Regions from separate parts of the Homo sapiens genome. Here all the other regions are linked to region 1. The links are contacts of gene promoters, found by promoter capture Hi-C in blood cells and fetal thymus (Javierre and others, 2016). All regions are on one chromosome and are shown on one strand. The core of a region is centred on a gene start or on the middle of the fragment in contact, and the rest is flanking DNA. Distances in the headings are between cores, read along the strand shown.

The links. Contacts are between HindIII fragments. The CHiCAGO score rates a contact against its expected background, and 5 or more counts as called.
Region 2: a contact is called between a fragment that was not itself captured here and the fragment with the promoter of SEMA6A in region 1, in 1 of 17 cell types (endothelial precursors). The highest score is 8.6, in endothelial precursors.
Region 3: a contact is called between a fragment that was not itself captured here and the fragment with the promoter of SEMA6A in region 1, in 1 of 17 cell types (endothelial precursors). The highest score is 6.2, in endothelial precursors.
Region 4: a fragment that was not itself captured here is called in contact with the fragment with the promoter of SEMA6A in region 1 in 1 of 17 cell types (M0 macrophages); the score reaches 5.2 in M0 macrophages.

The regions. Positions count from the first base shown.
Region 1 is chr5:116,572,137-116,577,755 of GRCh38, forward strand. It overlaps SEMA6A (semaphorin 6A), which reads right to left and starts at 2,687. Exons shown (of 19, transcript NM_020796.5): 1 at 2,049-2,687. It overlaps SEMA6A-AS2 (SEMA6A antisense RNA 2), which reads left to right and starts at 2,282. Exons shown (of 3, transcript NR_147170.1): 1 at 2,282-2,403. RefSeq lists enhancers at 1-745, 5,383-5,619 and a silencer at 2,443-2,522. The HindIII fragment of the contact is 8,307 bases long and covers 1-5,619 here.
Region 2 is chr5:118,953,743-118,959,361 of GRCh38, forward strand. All of the region lies in intron 1 of DTWD2 (DTW motif tRNA-uridine aminocarboxypropyltransferase 2), which reads right to left. Among named protein-coding and RNA genes, the nearest start is that of MIR1244-2, 18 kb to the right of the region's middle. The HindIII fragment of the contact is 207 bases long and covers 2,629-2,835 here.
Region 3 is chr5:118,797,856-118,803,474 of GRCh38, forward strand. No RefSeq gene overlaps it. Among named protein-coding and RNA genes, the nearest start is that of MIR1244-2, 170 kb to the right of the region's middle. RefSeq lists an enhancer at 1,308-2,507. The HindIII fragment of the contact is 543 bases long and covers 2,273-2,815 here.
Region 4 is chr5:118,605,600-118,611,218 of GRCh38, forward strand. LINC02215 (long intergenic non-protein coding RNA 2215) reads left to right here. Exons shown (of 5, transcript NR_104998.1): 2 at 4,140-4,278. Among named protein-coding and RNA genes, the nearest start is that of LINC02215, 12 kb to the left of the region's middle. The HindIII fragment of the contact is 1,059 bases long and covers 1,861-2,919 here.

The DNA.
Region 1 (5,619 bases), core at 1,437-3,936:
TTTCTGAGACCTGCTGGCACAACACTGCAAGTGGGTTAAACGGCTTTTCAGATCTGAGGTAAAGAAAGTTGTGCGTACAAGGGCGAGTGTGTGCGTGTGTGTGTCCATGCACGCCTGTGTTTTAAACCTTTCACAGATCGCATTCAGTAGCGTAAAAAAGCTGAGCGTAAAAAAAGGAGCGATCCCACTGTGGCTGTGCCTGGCCACCGCAGTTCCAAAGCAGCCACCTTTCTCCCAAAGACCGACGCGAAAAAGCCTGCAGGGCTCCCCAGTGCGATACAGGCCGGAGACTCCCTGGAAGTGCTTGCCCCGGCTGTGAAGACAGCGCCTCCAGTCTCCCATTCCTCTCCCGCTCCACGCACACCTGGCTCTGCTTCCTCCCTCCCTGGATAGCCACGCTGGGAAATCGTGCGCAGGGAGCAGATGGCTCGGGATTCTGCACCTGAAGCTGCCTACTTGCAAGCCACTGAGCCCCGGCCTGTGTCCACACGCACCTTCCCCACAGCCTCTGTCCACAGTGGCCGCACCTGCCTCCGGGGTCCTGCTTCCCCATTCATCCCTTCCCCGACTTGTCGAGCAAGTACCGCGGGCCAGGAGGTTCCACTCTCCAAAGGGCCGGGATCTAGCTCCTAGCTGCATCCCGAGCTGTCCGCATGATTCCCTCCAGGTCCGGCTTCCCTCAGACTGCACATGCTGAGCCCCAGTCCGGTCGTGCCTGCCGCCCCTGGCTTTCAGGGAAACTTTCCAGGAGCGCCTGGTCTAGTGACCCCGCCGCTGTAAAGTGGGAGGAGGCGCTGGGCGGAGGGGCGGCGAGGGAGCGGGAAAAACAGCGGAATTCTGTTTCCTTTCCCGACGTCCACAAGCCCGGGACCGCTCCCTGGCTCCCCCCGTGCCGCTCGGGTCTTGCGAGGAGGGAGGAGACCTCAGGATCCTGTTTTGCACCATCTCCCACAGCGAGGAGCTGAGCAAAACGCGGAGAATCGGGACAAGAGACACTTCCCGCCCCAGAAGGATCAGGCAGGGTGGGTGGGCACTGCCCGGCTTACTCTCCAGCGCCCCATTGCCCCCATGGTAGCGCCCTAGGACACAGTGAGGAGTCGGAACAGAGCCCTAGTCTGGGTTTCAAACCCAGGGCCATCTTCTGCCAGGTCTCTCACCCTTCCCCCTCCTGGGTCATCTTTCCAGAGCGAGACCGCGCTGATCTGGGAGGAGGGCGTACCGTGCGCCAGCCCGGTGCAAAGGGCTCGGTGCTTCAGGAGGGACGCAGCCGCGACGGGCTATATCCTTGCCGCTCGGGTTGGGAGCTGCGGCGGGGGACAGGACCCATGGCGGGGGCGCCGCGTCACCCGAACGGCTGCTCCCGGACACTTATTCGAGCAAACAAAGCCCGGAACCTCTGGTGGCAGCGGCCACAGGAGCCAGGATCTCACCGAGAGACAGGGCGCGCGGGTGCCTAGAGCCATTACAAGTTTCTTGCACTCCACGGAGCCCAGCCCAGACCCCACACTGACAACAAAAGATTCTCTCCGCTTCCACACCGTCTCCGCGGAACCCCTTCTCCCACCTGGCACTGGACGAAAACAGCGCTGTTATACCCAACCCCCTCCAGCCCTCGAGGGCAGAACCCCTTCCCCTGCCTTCGACACACCGGGCCAGGGAGCTTCCGAGAATCCCACCATTTAGGGCCCGCTCTGCTCCCTGCTGGGCACGCGGGAGGATGAGCCTTGGGTCTCGCACACACACCCCCAGGAGGAACAGCCATACGCGCCGTCGCGGCCCGGGGCGGCGCCGGGCGTGTGCGCAACGCGGGTGGGAAAGCTCTCGACGTGGAGCCGGACGCACTCTGGGGCGCAGGGCAGAGAGGAAAGGCAGGCAGGGCTCACGGCTGCTCCCCCAGGACCGGGCAAGGCTCGGGAAACAGAGACACAAGACAAAATAAAACGCAGGCACCACAAAGCCGACAGCACGCGCTAGCCACGGCCCCGGGACCCTCAGGCTGGAGTCCAGCTGCCCGGGAGGTGGGGCGCGCCCGGGCGCCCGGGGCGTACCTTTTCGGTGCATCGACGGACAGGCGGCCGGGGCTCGGAGCGAACTGGTACAGCGTGTATCCCATTTAGTAATCCATTATCGAGGGGATCTCTCCGGGCCGCGGGCTGCGCTCTCTCCTTCGCAAGCCTTTGTCATTCCTACATGTGTGCTTGTCTCTTTGGGGGAAATAGTCGCGGCGACTACTTTCTGGGATGCAAACGCGATGTGTTCATCTCCAATGACGAGCGGAGAAGGGGAGAGGAAAAAAGAAGCCAAAAAAAAAAAGAAGAAAAAGAAAAAGAAAACCAACAAGGAAGAGGGTAAATGTTCAAGAAACTCTTCTCCAAATCCAAATTCCACTTGGATTCCACTTCGGTGAGTCCCCTTGGTGGTGTCTGCGCCGATTAACAAGTCATTTCAGGGCGGGGGGCGGGGTGGGGGCTGGGGCAGGGGTGCAAGGCTCTGGCCCGGCTCTGCGGCCGGCAGCGCGGTGCCGCGGGTGTGGTGATGCTGGCCGCTGCTACACGCTGCTAAGCGGGCATCGCGGGCGACCGGCACCGCGGAGGAGCGCCGCTGCTGGGTTCCGAGCGCCTGGGCAGCCGAGTGCGCGGGGAGCGGAGTTGGCTGCAGCCTCACCCCGTGCCGCTCACTACTCCTCTGTCACCGGAGAGGCCGCCGCTCCCGGGCGGAGCCAAGTCCCGGACTGGATTGCGCAGATCGGACTCTCCTTCCGCAACTCCGCCTACTTTGGCTGGCGTCTCCTCCGACCCAAAGGAGAGCTGTGGTGTATGTGAGTGCGAGTGAGCGAGGCAGAGGCGGAGAAACTACGCGGTGTGGCTGCAGGTGGAGCCTTGGACCAACTGGCCAGCGCCGCTTCCTTCCACCAGGATTCCTGGCCCCACCGCGCGCTAGGCGGAGGCTCAGCGGGGGCGACTCTGGCTGGAGCCCAGCCCTCACCTCCCCCACCCCCACATCTGCTCTAGCTAGGAAAAAAAAAAAGAAAAAAAAAATCCCGGACAGCATTGCTGAGTCCTGCCAAATCAGAAAAATAAATAAAAATAGACGTAGTGCAGGAGCGAGTTACAAGAAAGGTTTTGTTCATCGATTTTCTTAAATGGAAAAGTTTTAAAGGATGAGGGTAAGTGAACGGCGAGCTTTTCTGATTCTGATTACTGTTATCAAGAGGTAGATTCCAGAAGCGATGGACGCTCTACGTAGTTAGATGAATTGGATAGAAGCCGGTGCGGTTAAAAATACACTTGGAAGATAAGAACACAGCTATTAATTACGCACATACACACGTTAATAAAGCATGTGAAGTAAGCAAATAAACTACAGTGCAGAGAATGGCGTTTTTAACGACGGCGATCTATTTTAAAACTTAATGAAGTTCACATTTTGTGGACTGGTCTTAGAAATAAGTAAACTTCAGAAATAACACGCATACAATTCCAGTGAGAACCCAAAAGGTTTATGGAAGAAGAAAATCGCAACCACTTCCAAGGCGCTATTGTTATGATCACATGAAGAATGGCAGGCACAGCCTTCTTTCACCACTTGAACTTTCAATAGCTACAAAGTCTTGCAGTTACAGGCTTGTGCCAACTCGTCGGGCCACACCACGTTCCCCTCCCCCTGCCGCTGCGCCCCGAAATCAACTGCGCGCCGCGGCTCTTGCTCCCCAAGGGGGCTTCGCAGATGGTACGGATCCTAGTCGCAACCTTTAAACAAAGTAACATCGGGCGGCCCAGCAGTTCTCGGAGAGATATTTACTAGTCATGGAGTTGGCTGAGAAAAGCAAGTGCGGAGATCGGGGTCTCAGTCCCACTTAGGCCGAGTTTCTTTATATTGGAAACTGTACCTGTTCCCTAATTGGGACTAAGACCACTAATAAGTCCACGTTCCCTCTTTGGTCGCTTCTCTAAGTACAGACATCTGCTTAAGAGGCTTCACGAAGAATAAATGCACATGGGTCAACACCCATTCCCCCCGCACCACTACCACCACCTGGAAAAGGTAGGGAGAATGGTAGGAAAAAAAGAAAAAATCAGTACCCCTGCTGTTCTCCAGAGCTGTCAGCAGGGGCCGCTATCCCCACCTTTCTCGGGCAAAGGCCTCTATAGACCTGGGGTAGTGGGGGGCGCGGCCCTAGGTGCGCGCGCAGCCCCCGCGGCTTCAAGAGCCAGCCTCGGGAGGGGGTTGGGGAGTGTGGGGCGGTGGGTAGGATTGCGCTTTCCCGCGGGTTGGGTGGGGGCCGGCTCCAGGACGTCTCCTCAGAATCCCGCGGGGTTAGGAGAAGGATCTGGCGGCCAAGACGGCTGGATCCCCGGCTGCGCTATTTAACACCCAGATTTTGGCTGATGACTGCAGGGTCAGTGTGAGCTGGTCCCCTGGCTCGTCCGTGCGCCCCAGGCGCGGTACTGCAGCCCCTTCGAAGCTCCGGACCCTTCGGCCTCCGGGGTTTTTTGTCCCGCGCTCCACCCAACCGGGGTCGCCGAGGCTCCTTCTTCGCTCCCCGCCGCCGATTTACATGCTAATTGTGTCTGGGAAAAGTTCTTAAATTGGCAGAATTAGGCAGAGCAAACGAATTGTTTCACAGGCCGAACTAAATTAATTTCGGGTTTAGCTCCTTCCCTTAGAGAAACAAACAATTAAGTTGTTTTATTTGCTTTATGGATATATTGGAAATGCCCCACAACGAGTTTCAGGATATTGTTTAAAGGGACATTATATTCAATATTAATACTTGCATGTTTAATTTGTAGTAACGCTGAGCCAAGAAGCGAGCGATTAAATTTACCTAATTTAAAATTATAGAATACGAGAGTTAAAGAATTGGAGTCTACTTTTCACAGTGAAGAAATACCACCCAGAATCTTCCTGGCAATTACTAGATCCTAGTCTCACCATCCAAGTAGGAGCCCTTCCTTCTGACCACGTGATATTACATTTCCACCTGCCAGAAAAGATGCTCCCGGAGCTGGAAGAAAAGCCAGCTATTGTCAGGCTCCCGAAACCCCCAGGGGAGCACCTGTGGGGAAGCCAGGCTATGAAACCTCATGATGTCATTTCCCCATAAGTGCGCCTCAGACTCACTTCCAGAAGCCTGCAGTAAGTTTTCAGTAAAACCACTGCCCCTTCAAAGCCTTTGAAGTCTGCAATTTATACCCTGTCCCTTCAGGAAAAGAAAGCCAAAGAGTTAAAGAATCACAGAGTGATGAGAAGGTGACTTCAGTGGTTTTTTTTAAAGTGACGTAAAATGGAGTGTTTGAGGCCCTGGTCTCTGGAGGCCATCTGCGGTTAATGTAACTTAGCTGGTGATCTTGGGCAAGTCACTTATCTCTGTGAAGTCCCAGTGGATTCACCTGTAAATGGGGATTCTTATTCTACTCACTTCCCGAGGAGCTCGTGGATTACATTAGATGATCTTCGTAAATTCGGAGTCTAAGGCTGACACTGCTTTATAAAGATTAAGTGTCACATTGTCATCCTTGCCATCCTCCACATCAGTCCTACCATCACATTTTACAGGAGTCACATGGAAGCACAGCGGACAGAAGTGGCTTGACCTGTGTCAGCGATTGGGTCAGG
Region 2 (5,619 bases), core at 1,482-3,981, 2.4 Mb after region 1:
TGCCAGACTGCCACAAGGATGCCAGCAGAAAAGGGTCATCTAAGGTTGCTCTACAATGCCACAAATGCAAATTTGTGGCTCCTGGCCTATATCTTTCTGGTATTAGGTGTGGCCTAAAGTAGTCTTATGCACCTGAGTGTCTAGCAACTGGTGCTCTGCCTGGTATCTTATCCCAGATATCTGCAGAGCTTAAAGATTCACTTAGACCAGGTCTTTGCTCCAATGCCCCATTCTAAAATAATCCAAGGCAAGGCATGGTGGCTCATGCCTGTAATCTCAGAATTTTGGGAAGCTGAGGAGAAAGGATCACTTGAGCACAGGAATTCGAGATCAGCCTAGGAAACATAGCAAGACCTCATCTCTACTAAAAATTTAAAAATTAGCCAGACACGGTGGTGCACAGCTGTAGTCCCAGCTACTTGGGAGGCTGAAACAGGAAGACTGCTCATACCCAGGTGTTTGAGGATGCAGTGAGCTATGATCACACCACTGTACTCCAGCCTGGGCAACAGAGAGAGAAAAACCCTAGCAATGAATCAATCAATCAATCAAATCATCCACCTTTTCTCTCACTATCACTCTCTATCCCCTTATTCTGACTGATTTTTCTTCACAGCATTTTACTACTATTTGACATTATGTTAGCTGAATGTGGGTTTCCTTCTCTAAAATGTAAGCTACAGGGAGGCAAGGACTTAGCCTACCTTTTTCACTGCTATATCCCCAGCACCTGGCATAGTAGGTGCTCAATAGATATTGCTGAATACATAAAGGATTTTTTTCTTTTTTTGAGACAGGTGTCACTCTGTCACCCAGGCTGGAGTGCAGTGGCATGATCTCAGTTCACTGCAACCTCCGCCTCCCAATTCAAGCAATTCTCATGCCTCAGCCTCGTGAGTAGCTGAGGTTACAGGTGTGCACCACCACATCTGGCTAATTTTTGTATTTGAATAATTAATGTTATTTTTGGATTTTTTTTTGTAGAGGTGAAGTTTCTCAAATTCCTGGCCTCAAGTGATCCACCTGCTTCGGCCTCCCAAAGTGCTGAAGTTACAGGCGTGAGCCACCGTGCCCAGCCTGAAGGAATATCTTTACATTCCGTCTTCTCTAAACCTTTGAATGCTTTTCTCCTCCTATACAATTTTCTATCCCATTCGTTAATTTTTTTTTATATATCAAAGTTTAATTTCTCCTTTATGCCCTCTCTGGTACTTAAGTAATTCATTTGTATTACAAATGAAATTCAGAGTGTCAGGTCTTCCTTTATTATATTTTGTGATCATTTTGATAAGTGATCGCACATAAAAGACAAAAATATTTACTGAAGAAAACAGTTACTAAAAAAATAGCTAAACAATTTATGTGTAAACACTATAAGCGTGATTTAACCTAAAACTAATTGCTTTAACTCATGATTTTATATGCTCACAAAACATTTTCTATTTACTTTAAAGCATATTCTCTTTATTAACCTAATTTTACTTATAATTACTTCAAACTAATAAAACTGTAGCTCTTTAAAACATCTCAACTAGCTTTATATTTAGCAAGTTACTTTATAGGACGCATTTCTGCTTTATTACCTTACTATCAATCTTTCCTCCCCGACAATGCTCTGCATGCATGGTAATGGTGATTAGCTGACCAACTGTTAAACCATCTCTTCCTAAACTAGTGGGTAAGTGCAGAGTAACTGCTCTCCTCATTCTAAAATCTCTCTAGAAGGTTTAAATATTTAAATTAATAATGGATTGAATAATTTATAAATTCAACAAATTTTTATTCAAATATTTACTGCATACCTAAGTGCCAGATATTAGGCACTTGGGACAATAAAAAGAACAAAGATTCCTACCCTCATGGAGCTTATTTGTTCTCACTGTGCCAGAAATAATTTTTTAAAAGTTCCTTGCTTCTCCAGGCACATAGCAGGGTGCAGCTACTCAGGAGGCTAAGGCAGGAGGATCACTTGAGCCCACTTTGAGGCTGTAGTAGTACAACCAGTGAATAGCCACTATGCTCCAGCCTGGACAACACAGCAAGACCCCTATCTCTTAAAAAAAAAAAAAAGTTCCTTGCTTCCTATGAACTATTATACTTGACAGGCAAAAAATATCACATAACTATATATCAAAACTGATTATTTGTAAATAATGAATATTCATTTTTTTTTAATCAAGCTACTTCTAGAATTTATATAGATATGAGAAATAAAAACTAACATCTAAAGAAATATACACTGGTCAACTGGGTATAGGTTTGGGGAATAACTATTATAATGTCACTACCAATGTTATTGTCTTGCTATGTGACCTTGGGCATGTCACAGATTTTCAATTTCCTTCCGAACAAAACTGGTAACAATAAGGCAACAAGAGAGTTCTGGGGAATAACTACTGCATTACAGGCAAACATTCTGGCTATTATTTTGAGCTAATTTATAACAGACTGACCAAAATAGGTGCTGAGATTTTTCCCTTTTCTATATTTATAATGTATTTACAATGTATTTTTCCGCTCATCGGGGTTTATCTTCTTTAAAACCTATACAACCCAATTAATGTAATTACATTCTTAAAATATAAATGAAACCTTCAAATCATTTCCCCAAGGAAATTCTGTGAAATAAGCTTTTTCTTCTTTTCTCATTAAGGATGTAGAAATAAATACATGGGCTTCCTGTCAGACTAAGACTGACTTGCTTCCTAAACAAATGCTGTAATACAAAGGTAATGTGTATCACTCTGGGCATACTATCTCTGACAGCCTGTGGGCTAATAAAATTATATCTGACATATGACTAGAGATGCTAGGACCTACAAAAAAATCTTTCAAAGCTTTAATTAAATTTCTTATATAATATTCACTGAAAGCTTTTTTCTCACAGTACTGATTTTAATCAAGGTGATTCAAATAAGTAAACTTTAAAGATTAGTGAACAGATTTACAAGTACTCTTTTTAAAGAGTACTAAACAAAAGCAAATGTGGAACCCAGAAAAATAGTGCACCTCAACTTTACCAATACTCAACAAAATTTTTATACTCCTAACATAGCGAAAAAGCAAAGAACAAAAAGTTTCATAGCTATTCATTCAACTAGTTGAATAGATACACTGCATTACACATAAAAATGGCAACAATTTTCCAATTTTAAAACTGGCTTTGGAAAACTAAATACCATAGTGCCCTCTGCTGTCATTTTAAAGAAACTAACGTGATCTGTAAGATAAAGTCATTGTCAGATTTCTGAAACTATATATCCAACATAACCAATAAAAGTAGAAATAGCTTTACATGATTAACATTATAATACATTTTCATCTCCAAAACAGAAGTAGATAACATCTTCCATGTCTGACTGCTTCAAGTACAAATAACAATAATATTCCCATACCCTGCAAAATTGTTTTCCTTACTAGATTCTCTTATAACTGGCTTTAGGAGTGGAGGAAGGATAGACTTAGAAAAAATATACTGTTGTGATTTTTTTTTTTCTGAGACATAGTCTTGCTCTGTCACCCAGGCTGGAGTGCAGTGGCATGATCTCGGCTCACTGCAACCTCCACATCCCGGGTACAAGCAATTCTCCTGCCTCAGCCTCCCAAGTAGCTGGGATTACAGGGGCGCGCCACCATGCCTGGCTAATTTTTGTATTTTTAGTAGAGATGGGGTTTCACCATGTTGGCAAGGTTGGTCTCGAACTCCTGACCTCGTGATCTGCCTGCCTTGGCCTCACAAAGTGCTGGGATTACAGGTGTGAGCCACCGCACCTGGCCACTGTTGTGATTTTTTAATTACAGTGTGAAGTTGTCCTATCCTAAAACGGTGATATATATAATATATATCTGTTTTAAATATATATACACATTTGTTTTTCTTTTTGCGAATTGGGCAGCCTCCCACAAAGGAATAGATTCAGAAACACTCCCAAGAATAAATGTCTTTAGATGAGAGTTTCAGAGACTTGTGCCCCAGAGGGCATGCCTAGAGCAGTGAAGAAATTATCAAGTTTATTTGAATTGTGGACTTGCATCTTACTATCCTTAACAGGGAATCTCACCCGAAATATATATTGTGCTTTGAGATAATAAATAATAATAGTGAGACTCCATTATACTATCATTACTGACCAAAACATTTTTAAAGACTTTATCTCACCAATACTTCTTCCTTTTTTGATATCTAGTTTTGTGTATGTTTTATGAGGTGCATCATATACTAATATACAATAAGTGTGTGTAATTAGAGAAAAATAAGCCTATCTATTAAAATGCACCCTAATTTTTTTAAATCAACTGCAGTATGTAATCAAAATAATTATATCACTGGCCTAGACATGTTTGTTCCTACTAGATCTATAATTAATATAAGTTTTCATGTGAAACCACAAGTTGGTTATTTGAAAGAATAAATCAGACAGACCACTGGCGGCCAGGCGCGGTGGCTCACACCTGTAGTCCCAGCACTTTGGGGGGCCAAGGTGGGCAGATCATGAGGTCAGGAGCTCGAGACCATCCTGGCTAACACAGTGAAACTCCGTCTCTACCAAAAATACAAAAACAAAATGAGCCGGGTGTGGTGGCAGGTGCCTGTAGTCCCAGCTACTCCAGAGGCTGAGGCAGGAGAATGGCGTGAATCCGGGAGGTGGAGTTTGCAGTGAGCCGGGATCACGCCACTACACTCCAGCCAGGGCAACAAAGCAAGACTCCGTCTGAAAAACAACAACAACAACAACAACAACAACAAAAGACCACTGGCTAGACTAATAAAGAAAAAAAGAAAATCCAAATAAAGAATCAGAAATGACAAATATAACATTAACACCAACCCCACAGAAAGACAAAAAAAAAAAAAAAAGACTATTATGAACACCTCCACGCACATAAACTAGAAAACCTAGAAGAAATGGAACCTACAAGCCAATATCCTTGATGAACATAAATGCAAAAATCCTCAAAAAAAATTAGCAAACCGAATCCAGCAGCACATCAAAAACAAATTCACTGCAATCTGATCAAGTAGGTTTTATCCCTAGGATACAAGAATGGTTCAATATACGCAAATCAATAAATGTGATTCATCACACAAAGAGAACAACAAAAACCACATGATCATATCAATAGATGCAGAAAAGGCTTTCAATAAAATCCAGCATCCCTTCATGTTAAAAATCCTCAACAAACTAGGCACTAAAGGAACTTACCTCAAAATAATAAGAGCCATCTATGCCAAACCCACAGCCAACATCATACTGAACGGGCAAAAACCAAAAGCATTCCCCTTGAGAACTGGAACATGACAAGTCTGCTCACTCTCACCACTCCTATTTAACATTGTATTGGAAGTCCTGGCCAGAGAAATCCGGCAAGGGAAATAAATAAAAGACGTCCAAATAGGAAGAGAGAAAGTCAAACTATCTCTGTTTGCAGACAATATTCTTTTTTACCTAGAAAACCCCATAGTCTGCCCAAAAGCTCCTAGATCTAATAAACAACTTCAGCAAAGTTTCAGGATACAAAATCAATGTAAAAAAAATCAGTAGCATTTCTATACACCAATAATGTCCAAGCTGAGCGCCAAATCAAGAACACAATCCCACTCACAATAGACACAAAAAG
Region 3 (5,619 bases), core at 1,294-3,793, 2.2 Mb after region 1:
CAGCATGGCTGACAGAGTGAGATCCTGTCTCAAACAATAATAATAATAATAATAATAATAATTTGCTGTAGAAATAATATGGTACAAAAAGATTCCAGAGGAAAAGGACTGGAATCACCAAACTGACCTAACTACAACAATCCCTCACTTTGAAGCCAAGGAGTAGAGTGCAGAGTGTGAGAGCACAGAAGCTCCTGACCAAATCCTGTAGTCAGGACCACTGGGTAAGGGTTTTATTCTAACTCACCTACCAAGACCTGACCCTGACTTAGGTATTTCCCAGAGAGAATGCTATTGTCTGCATGTTTGTATCCCCTCAAAATTCATATGATGAAATGCTAATCCCCAAGACAATGGTATTAGGAGGTAGGGCCTTCTGGAGGGCAATTAGGTCATGATGGCAGTCTTCACAAATGGGATTAATGCCCTTAAAAAATGAACCCAAGGGAGCTCATTTATCCTTCCCACCATGTAAGGATACAGTGAAAGGGAGCGATCTATCAACCAGGAAATGGGCCCATATCCAACACCAAACTTGCTGGCACATTGATCTTGAACTTCCCAGCCTCTAGAACTGTGAGTAATCCATGTTTGTTGTTTATAAGCCAGCTGGTGTAAGGGATTTTGTCCTTTGACTAAGAGAAGTAACACACACAGGTCTGAAAAGAGCTCATTCCACCCACAGTGGGTTCATACCAAAGACACACCAGCTCACAGAACACCATTTGTGAAAGGATTGCTGAGATTCCTAGGACTCAGACAGGGAGGAGACTATTTAGTATACTCTATCTCAATATACATTTTTAGAAAAGCCTGTATGTGGAGAATGTTCAATATATTGGTTTCAAAGGTGTCAACAGGGGAATTTGAAAATGATCAAGTACTGAGAAAGTACATTTTATTGACCAAGCTAGGCTTTTTACAAAATATTTTTCTCAATAAACTATCATGGAAAACAGGAAAATCATGTTTTAAAATAAGATACATTTTGGGACACTTGGTAGACATTGATCTTTCTCATTTCCATTATGCTGTCTTATGCCTTTGATTTTCATCTGAGAACTTATCCCTTGCTCTCTTACAGTCCACTGGATGCTTCAGGTCTCCAGCCCAGCCCCAGGAGAGAAGTCAGTGACCCAGACCTAAGTCAACCAGTGCACAGCATTTCCCCACATCAGAGTCAAGATGAAGAAGTGGGCATGACCTAAATCAGTTCAACCAGAATTAATCCCACAAGTTTTATAGGATCACCTGGAAAAGAGGCAGAGAGTAGTAAGTCTGTAAGGCTAGAACAGCTATAGCAATGCTACTGACCATGGGGAATTTAATCCAGATGAAGCAGAAATGAGAGATGGAGAGAAGAGAGTCCTGGTGATCCCATCTGAGCCCCTCCATCAAACATCCCTACTTGTATTTTTCACTTTCAACTGCCATTAAATACTCCTTTTGCTAAGCCCATTTTGGTTGGTTTTCTGTTACTAACCACTAAAATTACTGGCTATAATGATTTCAGATAAGTCAGATGTTACTATATGGAAATCAATATTTATCAAGCCAATATAAGCGTGTATCAATTAATACTTCTATCCCCAGATTCTATTTTCCTCTTATACTAAACTTCAGGAATTATGAATTCTTCCTGAACGTAAGACTACTATTTTTTGTAGCTGTAACCTAAAGCACATTGGACTATTCCTTCTTGTCTTCTTATAACCCCAAAATAGGAATTATAATTTCTTACTGAAATTTCCCTAAATTTTTTCTCACCAAAATTTAGTTAATTTTTCCCTAAAATTTCTTTACTATATTTCACTGAAATCTACTATGTAGTATTTTCTCTAGATGAAAACTTTCCCTGAAAATTGCAAGAAGTGAAAACATTGGCTTTGAAATGATAGATAATTCATAAACTATTCTTAAGGATTATTCTCAGGAATAATTATTTTGTCTGGCCTACATAACCCTAAATAGTGGTAAAATATACAGTAGTTTAAAACATGGTTAGGGGCCCAATCTAGAACAAAGAAAAACTGCCTGTGAGTAAAACAGTCAAACATGTTTTAGACATGTCTCGCATCCACCAGTGTGAGTCGAGTGCAAAGGGTTACTGTAAACTGACCAGGTATTAGCAGGTCATCTTCAAACCCACATCAACCCACCTCACCTCAGAGCCAGTTCTAGGACCCTCCACGGGTCAGCCTAATTTCCCTTGGCCCAGCCCAAGCTGGCTCTTTCTCTTTGCACAGCAATGCTCACACACCCTGGCCAAAAAAGCTTTCGAAGTATTTCTTTTTGAATGAGCATAAAGTGCCTATTGAGACCAAGAAAGCCTCCTTATTGTGGGGTTGACCTTACCACTGTGTCCACATTCCCCAGAGGTATGGACAGTAGCTACAGCTGAGGAAATGTCATTCAGCAGTTTTTTGCGTATGAAATTTGAGAAATTTGCATGATACATGTGGAGCCAATTGTTCATATCTAAGCATATTAGCTGTTTTTCTCCTGAGAACACAAAAAAGTTATTGAGAGTGAAAAGAAGTCCCATTGGAGGAGGGGAAACCTGAGGGGCCTCCCTGAGTACTATTCACTGCAGGCCTCATTTCATTCCCAATGACTTCTGTGGAAGCCAATTTAAAGAAGGTCACAGGTATTTACCTTTCTTCCCTGTCTGTTTCAATCTGTTTTATAGAGAAGGAGTGAAAATGCCAATGCCAATGCTCATTCTTGAGCCCTTGGTGCATTCGTTCTGCAGATTTTTTTAATACAAGGGTAGACTTTTAAAACAACAAAAGAAAATGTCATTGGAATAGACTTAAGCTTTACTTTGACTTAAGATAGATTTCATTCCTTGGCTTAGACTGGATTACATTCACCTAGTCCTGTCATTTCTTACTAAGGGAGGAGACCACCCCTCATAGTGTATTATGCCCAATTTCTGCCTCCAAAGAAAGAAGTAAAAACTAAAAGGCAGAAATGAAATCCACAAGCAGACAGCCCGGCACCACACCCTGGGCCTGGTAGTTAAAGATCCACCCCTGACCTAATCGGTTATGTTATCTATAGATTATAGACATTGTATAGAAAAGCACTGTAAAAATCCCTGTCCTGTTCTGTTCCGTTCTAGTTACCAGTGCATGCAGCCCCCAGTCACGTACCCCCTGCTTGCTCAATCGATCACAACCCTCTCACACAGACCCCCTTAGAGTTGTGAGCCCTTAAAAGGGACAAGAATTGCTCACTCAGGGAGCTCGGTTGTTGGAGACATGAGTCTTGCCGAAGCTCCTGGCTGAATAAAGCCCTTCCTTCTTTAACTCGGTGTCTGAGGAGTGTTGTCTGCAGCTTGTCCTGCTACATTACAAGTAATGCTCTGTCAGTACAGAGTAGTAGTAGGCATTTATGGCCTACCACATCCTTAAATATCTCCCACCTCTGGTAGTACTGAAACACTGCTCACATAAAGAGCTACATAGGGGATGAGAAGAAAACAGAATTCTGTTTACAAATTCAGGTATTTGATTATTAGGCTAATGTTTGTAAAGTAAGGTATAAAAAATCCAAAAGAGTGGATGTTCCCAAATCCATCTATATTTTCCCTTTTGTATTTATATGTTTATGTCTGATCATTTACTTCAATTAATGTATATGCTTTCACTCACTAAGTATTAATTAAAATGCTTACTTTATGCCAGGTACTGTGCTAGGTGATAAATACACACAAAAAAAATGAAGAAGGAATAACTACCTTCGAAGGCTTAACCCTCTGATAAGGAAAACAAGAGAACAGAAAAAATTTTATAAAGTAAGTAAATATCATAGAATTTTGAGGAAAAAAAAGATGTGCATGTATTTAGGTGCATATGTCACCAGAATGGGTCAAACGGCTACCAGACAAGAAGACTTTCAAGAGCCTTACCTAGGTCCATTTTCATGTACTTGGCCTGGTCTGCTTCCTAGAAAATTCAGAAATCTGATTTTTTTCTTTCAGCATACTAAGCATGAATCTACCTGTGGGACATCAACTTATATTAACTGAGCTTATCAACACTAAGGCATAGCCCAGAATTTTAATTTGCCAATTTACAATGAAACAGCGTTGTCTTGTAGATCATGGACAGAGGAATTGAGATTATATAGCCAGCTCATTCTGCTTCTGAAGACAGATCTACCACATTCTCAATTTTGGTTATACTATACACTCAAAAGAGTGTTTAGATTCGTATAGAATCACAATTAGGGTAATTGTTTTAATGCAACACGTGTTTGATGACTTCGGGCTGTAACAACCTGACTATCCACCTTCACATTAGAGACACATGCTAAAAATACCTAATTTGTTAAGACAACAGTCACCATAACCCAAGCCAAGGCAAAGGCACACTTTTCCTGCTGACCAAACTACATCTTCATTAACTAAATTTTTAAGTTTAAAGAAGAACTAATACCAATTCTACTCAAACTCTTCAAAAAATATTGAAGAAGAGGGAATACTTCCAAACTCATTCTACAAGGCCAGCATTACCCTGATAACAAAACGAGACAAGAACACAACCAAAAAGAAAACTATAGGCAAATATCCCACATGAATATAGTGCAAAACTTCTCAACAAAATACTAGGAAGTCCAATTCAACAACACATTTAAATGGTCTCACCATGACCAAAAGGGATTCATACCAGGGATGCAAGCATGGTTGAACATATGCAAATCAATGAAGGTGACACATCACATTAACAGAATGAAGAACAAAATCCATATGATCATTTCAATAGATGCTTAAAAAAGCACTTGATAAAATTCAACATCCCCTTATTTTAAAAAAAAAAAAAAAAACCATTATCAAACTGGGTATAGAAGGAACATTCCTCGAAAGGCCAAATATTACAAACCAACAGCTAAATCATACTGACCAGAGAAAAATTGAAAGCCTTTTTTTATAAAATCTAAAACAAGGAAAAGGTATGTACCTTTACCACTTTAGTCAGCATAGGACTGGAAGTCTCAGCCAAAGCAATTTAGCAAAAAAAGAAGAAAAAAATGAAGTGTTTCCAAATTGGAAATGAAGAAGTCAAGTTAGCCTTGCTTACAGATGACATGATCTTATATTTAGAAAAAAACTAAATAATCCACCAAAAAACCATTAGAACTGATAAATGAATTCAGTAAAGCCACATGATACAAAATCAACATACAAAGATCAGTAGCATTTATATATGCCAATAGCAAAGAATCTGAAAAAATAAATCAAGAAAGCAATCCCACGTGCTCTAGCTACAAAAAATATAAAATCCCTGAGAATCAACTTAACCTAAAAAAGTGAAGATTTACAAAAGGAAAACTATAAAACACTAAAAAAAGAAATTGAAGAGGACACAAAAAAGTGGAATATTATCCCATGCCCATAGATTGGAATATTTAATATAGTTAAAATAAAAATACTACCCAAGGCAATTTATAGATTCAGTGCAATCCCTATCAAAATATCAATGATTTTTTTACAGAAATAGAAAAAAATCCTAAAATTGATATATAACCACAAAAGACCCCAAATAGCCAAAGTAATTGTGAGCAAAAAGAACAAAGCTGGAGATATTACACTACTTGACTTCAAAATTTACTACA
Region 4 (5,619 bases), core at 1,140-3,639, 2.0 Mb after region 1:
TTTTTTTTTTTTTTTTTTTTTTTTGTAGAGAGGAGGTCTCTCTGTGTTACCCAGGCTGGTTTCAAACTCCTGGCCTCAAGTGATCCTCCTGTGTCCGTTTCCCAAAGTGCTGGGATTATAGGTGTGAGCCACCACACCCAGCCAAGTTATGAATTGTAAAATCATCTTCCTCAATCCCCCACTTCTGGGCTGCCATGCAGAATGTGAGCAAGAAATGTGAAGGCTTATTTCCTAAGATGAATGCTGAAAATTTTTTCAAAGTGATCGTGGGTGGCTTGGACCGCCTCAGCTTCGAAACCCACTTTTTCCTGTTTTCACACTTGACTTTGTGTGTCACTGACCAGCAGGTATGAGAACTGAGGTTCCTTCAGCTGTGCCAAGTGCAGCCTCTTGTTCCTCCTAGCTCTACTCCAGTCCCCTATCAGTAAAGCTTTGCTTCAGATGAAGTCCTTCACTTACCAAAATTAACTGCTGCTGTGTCCAAATCTAGGTAGGAAAAAATTCACCTTTCTTTTTTCCTGCAGCAATCTTGCACTCTGAAATATCACTACTTCAGAAATAGACCCTCTCCAGTTCTAAACTGTTAGTCCTTACCTCTTCTACCTTAAACAAGATGTTTTAAAATAAAATATTTTACTTATAAAAATCCCTTTATAACTTTTTCTGATTTTTAAAAATGAAACCTATCAATTTTGTCTAGATTTTCCTAGAAAAATAATCATAGTTACACAGCTGGTATTTAAACTTCTATAAACCCTTACGTATATATTTCATTGTATATATTTAAAACATTGTATATATTTAAGACACAACAACAAAGCACTTAAGAACATAGCTATTTTCTCTGAGATATTCGACCTATTATTTGGATATACAACTATCAGAAAGAGGAGGAGTGCATGGTTATGACATCAACATTGGATATTCAGTTCTCCCGTAAATGTGGTGAATTCAACAGAAGAAAAAAAAGGAAGGAGAGAAGAAGGGATACCTTTACCTTACTAACTCTTTTCACTTAAAAAAATAAAGCCTCAATATTAAGATCACTAAAATTTATTTTAAAAAGTATTCCTAATCTCTTTATACTGTGTTTTAAAGACATTCAGTTAGAAAGAGATTTAAATAAATACAAATATCTGCACTACTATTAGTTTTATTTGTTATTAAGTGTCAACAGCTCAAACACTGCTTCTCACCCTGGGATTCTACCCCAGGTTTGGACAGACTCCTCTTTTAACTTGCCCTGAATTAACCTGGAGACCAAAGTTTGCCTGGGTGTCTTCACACTTCTAGTTCCTCTAGAGTTGCTTTATATGAAAAGCCCTTACAAACTGCTTTCATAATGTCAAATCATCCTTCTCCCAGTTTTTTTTTTTTCATTTAAAAAAGAGACCTAGCTAATTTAAAATTAGTCCTAAATAATGTATTTAATTTCTTCATATAGAAGGAGAGCCTAGGCATCCTTTCTGCTATCAGCACTCACCAGAGTGAGCATGTGTGAGCTCGCCCTGTGGGTGGCACCTGAGCTGCAATGAGTGCTCCAGCGTGCCTGACTCTGAGGCCCGAGCCCGTGCTGCACGTGTGGTACCCATGTTCTGGACAGCTTGCCCATCAACACCAGGCCTGACATCCTTTCTGTGGGAAACAGACACATAGAGCCAAATAGCATGTCTCGGTAGTCAGTCATTAACATGAAATCTCATGATCGCCATTTTATAAATACAAGACAGTCATTTCTACTTCTTTTTATCTTATTTGTAGCTTCAGCCTGTTCTTTTTCTGATTTAGATTGAGTAGGTCCTGTAAACAAAAGATTAGATACACAACTGATGTCTGAAAGAGTTTAGAATTATAAAAACAAGCTTTCTAAAACTTACCATTTAAAAATACATTGCATCATGAATTAGAAATCTCTAAACAATGATACAATGATCTCATCACCAAACAGGGATTTCCTGAGCCTTCCTGGCTAACTCGGATGTTACTGAGAAATACTTCTTCCTTTCTCCTTATATTTCCCTCCTGTGAAGCATGCTAATCAGTGTAATCCCAGATCACTTGTCCCAGTCTCACACTACTCCTAGGGACCAGGTAAAATGGGGGCAGTAGAAGGATGCAAGACTCAGCCCCCTTCCTTCTTCTGTACAACTAGCTTTATCTGAGGAAAGCATATGTTTGGCATAAGTTGTGTAGGGGGAGGCCTACCTCACTCTAATGCTAACTGGATTTGAACGGTTATGTCTGCCTAATTCTGGAGTTCAATATTAACCTGACCATTTCAATAACAGACTTTATATTTGATATTTTGGTATCTACATTTTCTCTGGTTTTTTGCCAACTTATCCAAAACCTAGAAAGGCAAGAGGGTTTGTTATGTTTTTAATGGGGGCACCAAACTTATGTGATACAGCATATACTTAGGAATTTAAAAGGTTCCCCCTTTAAATAATACAAGTTTAAAAAACATGTATTATTAGGCTTGAAGACTTTGTGGATAACTGGAAATAAATGTGCATTGTTATATTCTGATGACTAGAAGCACTCATCTGCAAGGAAATTGTCAGTAAATTATGAATTGTGTTATATACATAATTCAGCATTAGAATGTTGGAAACGCAATCACACTATACAGATGATTCACACCTAAACCATGGTGCATTGAAGAAAACTAGTGTGCAAAAGAACTGATTTAAAATACATTGTCCTTTCTCATAAAAATAACGTTAGGGTTCAATTTGTAATCCCAACGTGAAAGACAATATCAGATAAATCAGAGCCCTGATCAGTAAATATCTATTCAAATAATTCAAAAGAAATAGGTTAAAAAGATCCTTTGGAACTACTCACCCCAAGTATATTCTATGAAACATGAATCTATAAGATGTTTCATTCAATATAAAAAGTTTCCTTGATCAATGAAGCTTAGGGAATAAATTATGCTATTATCTCTCCTCCCGAAGCTTTACAATGTAGACTAACATATTAAAGGCTCTGTGAAGCCCAGCATAATTTGTTTTAACCCAGCATTCATCAAACACGTCTAATTGCAGAACATTATTTTCAAGTAGCATCAATTAATTCCCATGGAACACACTCTGGGAAATGTTATAATAGCAAGTATTATTAAGATGTAACACCCAGGCTGGGCGCAGTGGCTCACGCCTGTAATCCCAGCACTTTGGGAGGCCGAGGCAGGTGGATCACGAGGTCAGGAGATCGAGACCATCCTGGCTAACACGGTGAAATCCCATCTCTACTAAAAATACAAAAAACTAGCCGGGCATGGTGGCGGGTGCCTATAGTCCCAGCTACTCGGGAGGCTGAGGCAGGAGAATGTCGTGAACCCGGAAGGCGGAGCTTGCAGTGAGTCCAGATCGCGCCACTGCACTCCAGCCTGGGCAACAGAGCGAGACTCCATCTCAAAAACAAAAAAAAAAAAAAAAAAAAGATGTAACACCCAAATTCCATAAGGAACACTGATAGATAGCATATTGCCCCAGTTCTTGCACTCTTGGTGTTATCTGAAATGCAGGGGTAGGACTCACACTCCACAGAGTTTCATCAATGAATTTAAGTAGCAGCAAAATTTATATAATGCATATATCAAACATTACATTATGAGACTGCATAAAGACTGAGACTTGAGACTATCTGGGCACTTTACATGTATAAAATCCATTCACCTCACCAGCAATCACTGAGGTGGGGACACTGGAACGAACTTGACTCTGTCTTCCAAGGACCTTCATTGCATTCCTTGAGTTAGAATTAGCCAAGGATTTTCTCTCAGCTTTTTCCCAAGAAGGCCATCAACTTTCCTTCCTGCTACTACCACACCTGCCTTTCTAGTTGCCCAGATTGTAATGTCTCAGCTTCCCACCATCTGGATAATGACAGGCCATATAGAAGTTGTTAGTTGTCCACCTAACTCTCTACTGCAGTGGGAATTTCTTTAAATTCCATCTGCGGTTATCTATTCTGAGAGTCATGGTTCCCAAACTGTTTGCCAAGGTGTTCTCGGATACTACAGTAATCTCACAGGTAACTTATGTATATTATTTTTTCATAAAGCTGTTAAGTTGTTAGGTATAAATACTTAAATTGTTTGGAGCTATGTACTTAATAAACACAACTGCTAGGTTTTTCTTTTGGCCTAGGCGTGACTGTGAAAAATATACTGAATCACTAAGGGCACTAAGTTTCTGAAAGTGAGAAAGTTTGAAACCATCTGCCTCAGAGGTTTACAGAAAAGAAAATATCTAAGAGATTTCAGCCTAGGTAAGGAAACATTCATCCACAGATTTATCTCCCCCTTTTGTTAAAAAAAAAAGAAAACTAAAACTACCATAACAATGTTAAAAATCTAAAAAGTTAGTATTATATATGAAAAGATAACTCTCTACTGATATACTGAAACCAAAAAAATAACAAAGAAAGAGCTTTCTAAGTGTATAAAAACTTTATCTCTATGTCAGAGAAAATAATTCAATGCATTCTCCATTTTGAGTCTGAGGAATAAATAAGCCAACGAGAGATAAATACTCACTTTTAATGTTTTCAAGGAGAGAAACCAGTGAAAAGATGGTTCAACTCTGATGCACAGAAGCTGGATGGGTCACAATTGCTACAACTGGCATGATACCTATCTCCTGAAACCTGTTCTTTCTCCTTGGTTCTCTTCAAGGTCACAGTACCCTGCCACTCAGGCAGCTATAAGAATAGTCCCCAAGGAGTGTTAACATCTTTTAACTCTAAGCCACATTCCTCCCTAAAGAAAGTGTGCCTGAATTTGTGAAAGTCTGCATCCTGGAGCCAAGTACAGGAAACCAAGAAGCTAAGAAAATATTCCTGCCACTATTTCTATCTTTAATGCATAGCTTTCCATTCTTCTTTAAGTTCTCAGGGTTAAGGAGCTCAAATAATGTAAGGAGAACAAAAATGAACAATAAATTATTGAGTTTAGTCTGCAAATCCACCCAAGGCATGAAGATTTCCAGAACCCTGCCTAATGTCACCAGAGGATAAGAATCTTAATTACTTACTCCAGCAGTCATCATCTTCTTTCCATTCTCCAGCCTATTGTTTTTCTTCCCTTGATCAACTAGTCACATCCATCATCAAAGCCTGCTCCAATGACCTCTCTCTCCTTTTATCAGCACTCATGCCTATCAATCTGCAAATACTAGCACTACATTACCAGCTCGCTTCAAAGATTTCACCATGATCTTCTATAGGCATTCACAATCATCCATTTGAGTTCCAAATCTTAGAGAAACTATTAGAAATTTTATGTATCATCTTGTAACCCAACCCCTTGATTCTTCAGATGATGGAAATGGGTAACATTAAATGACTTGCCTGGGTTCACATAGGCTCACACAGATTTGGGGAAATATAAGTGTAGAATGTATAGAATCTACCTCTTCTATCTTGCTATAGGACATACTTTTTTCGTAGAGATGAGGTCTCCTTATGTTGCCCAGGCTGGTCTCAAACTCCTGGGTTCAAGCAGTCCTCCTCCCTCCTGCCTCCTAATCCCAAGTGCTAGGGTTACAGGCATGAGCCACCATGTCCAGCCACTATACTTTTATTAAGTCTCTAAAATAAGCCCAAATATAC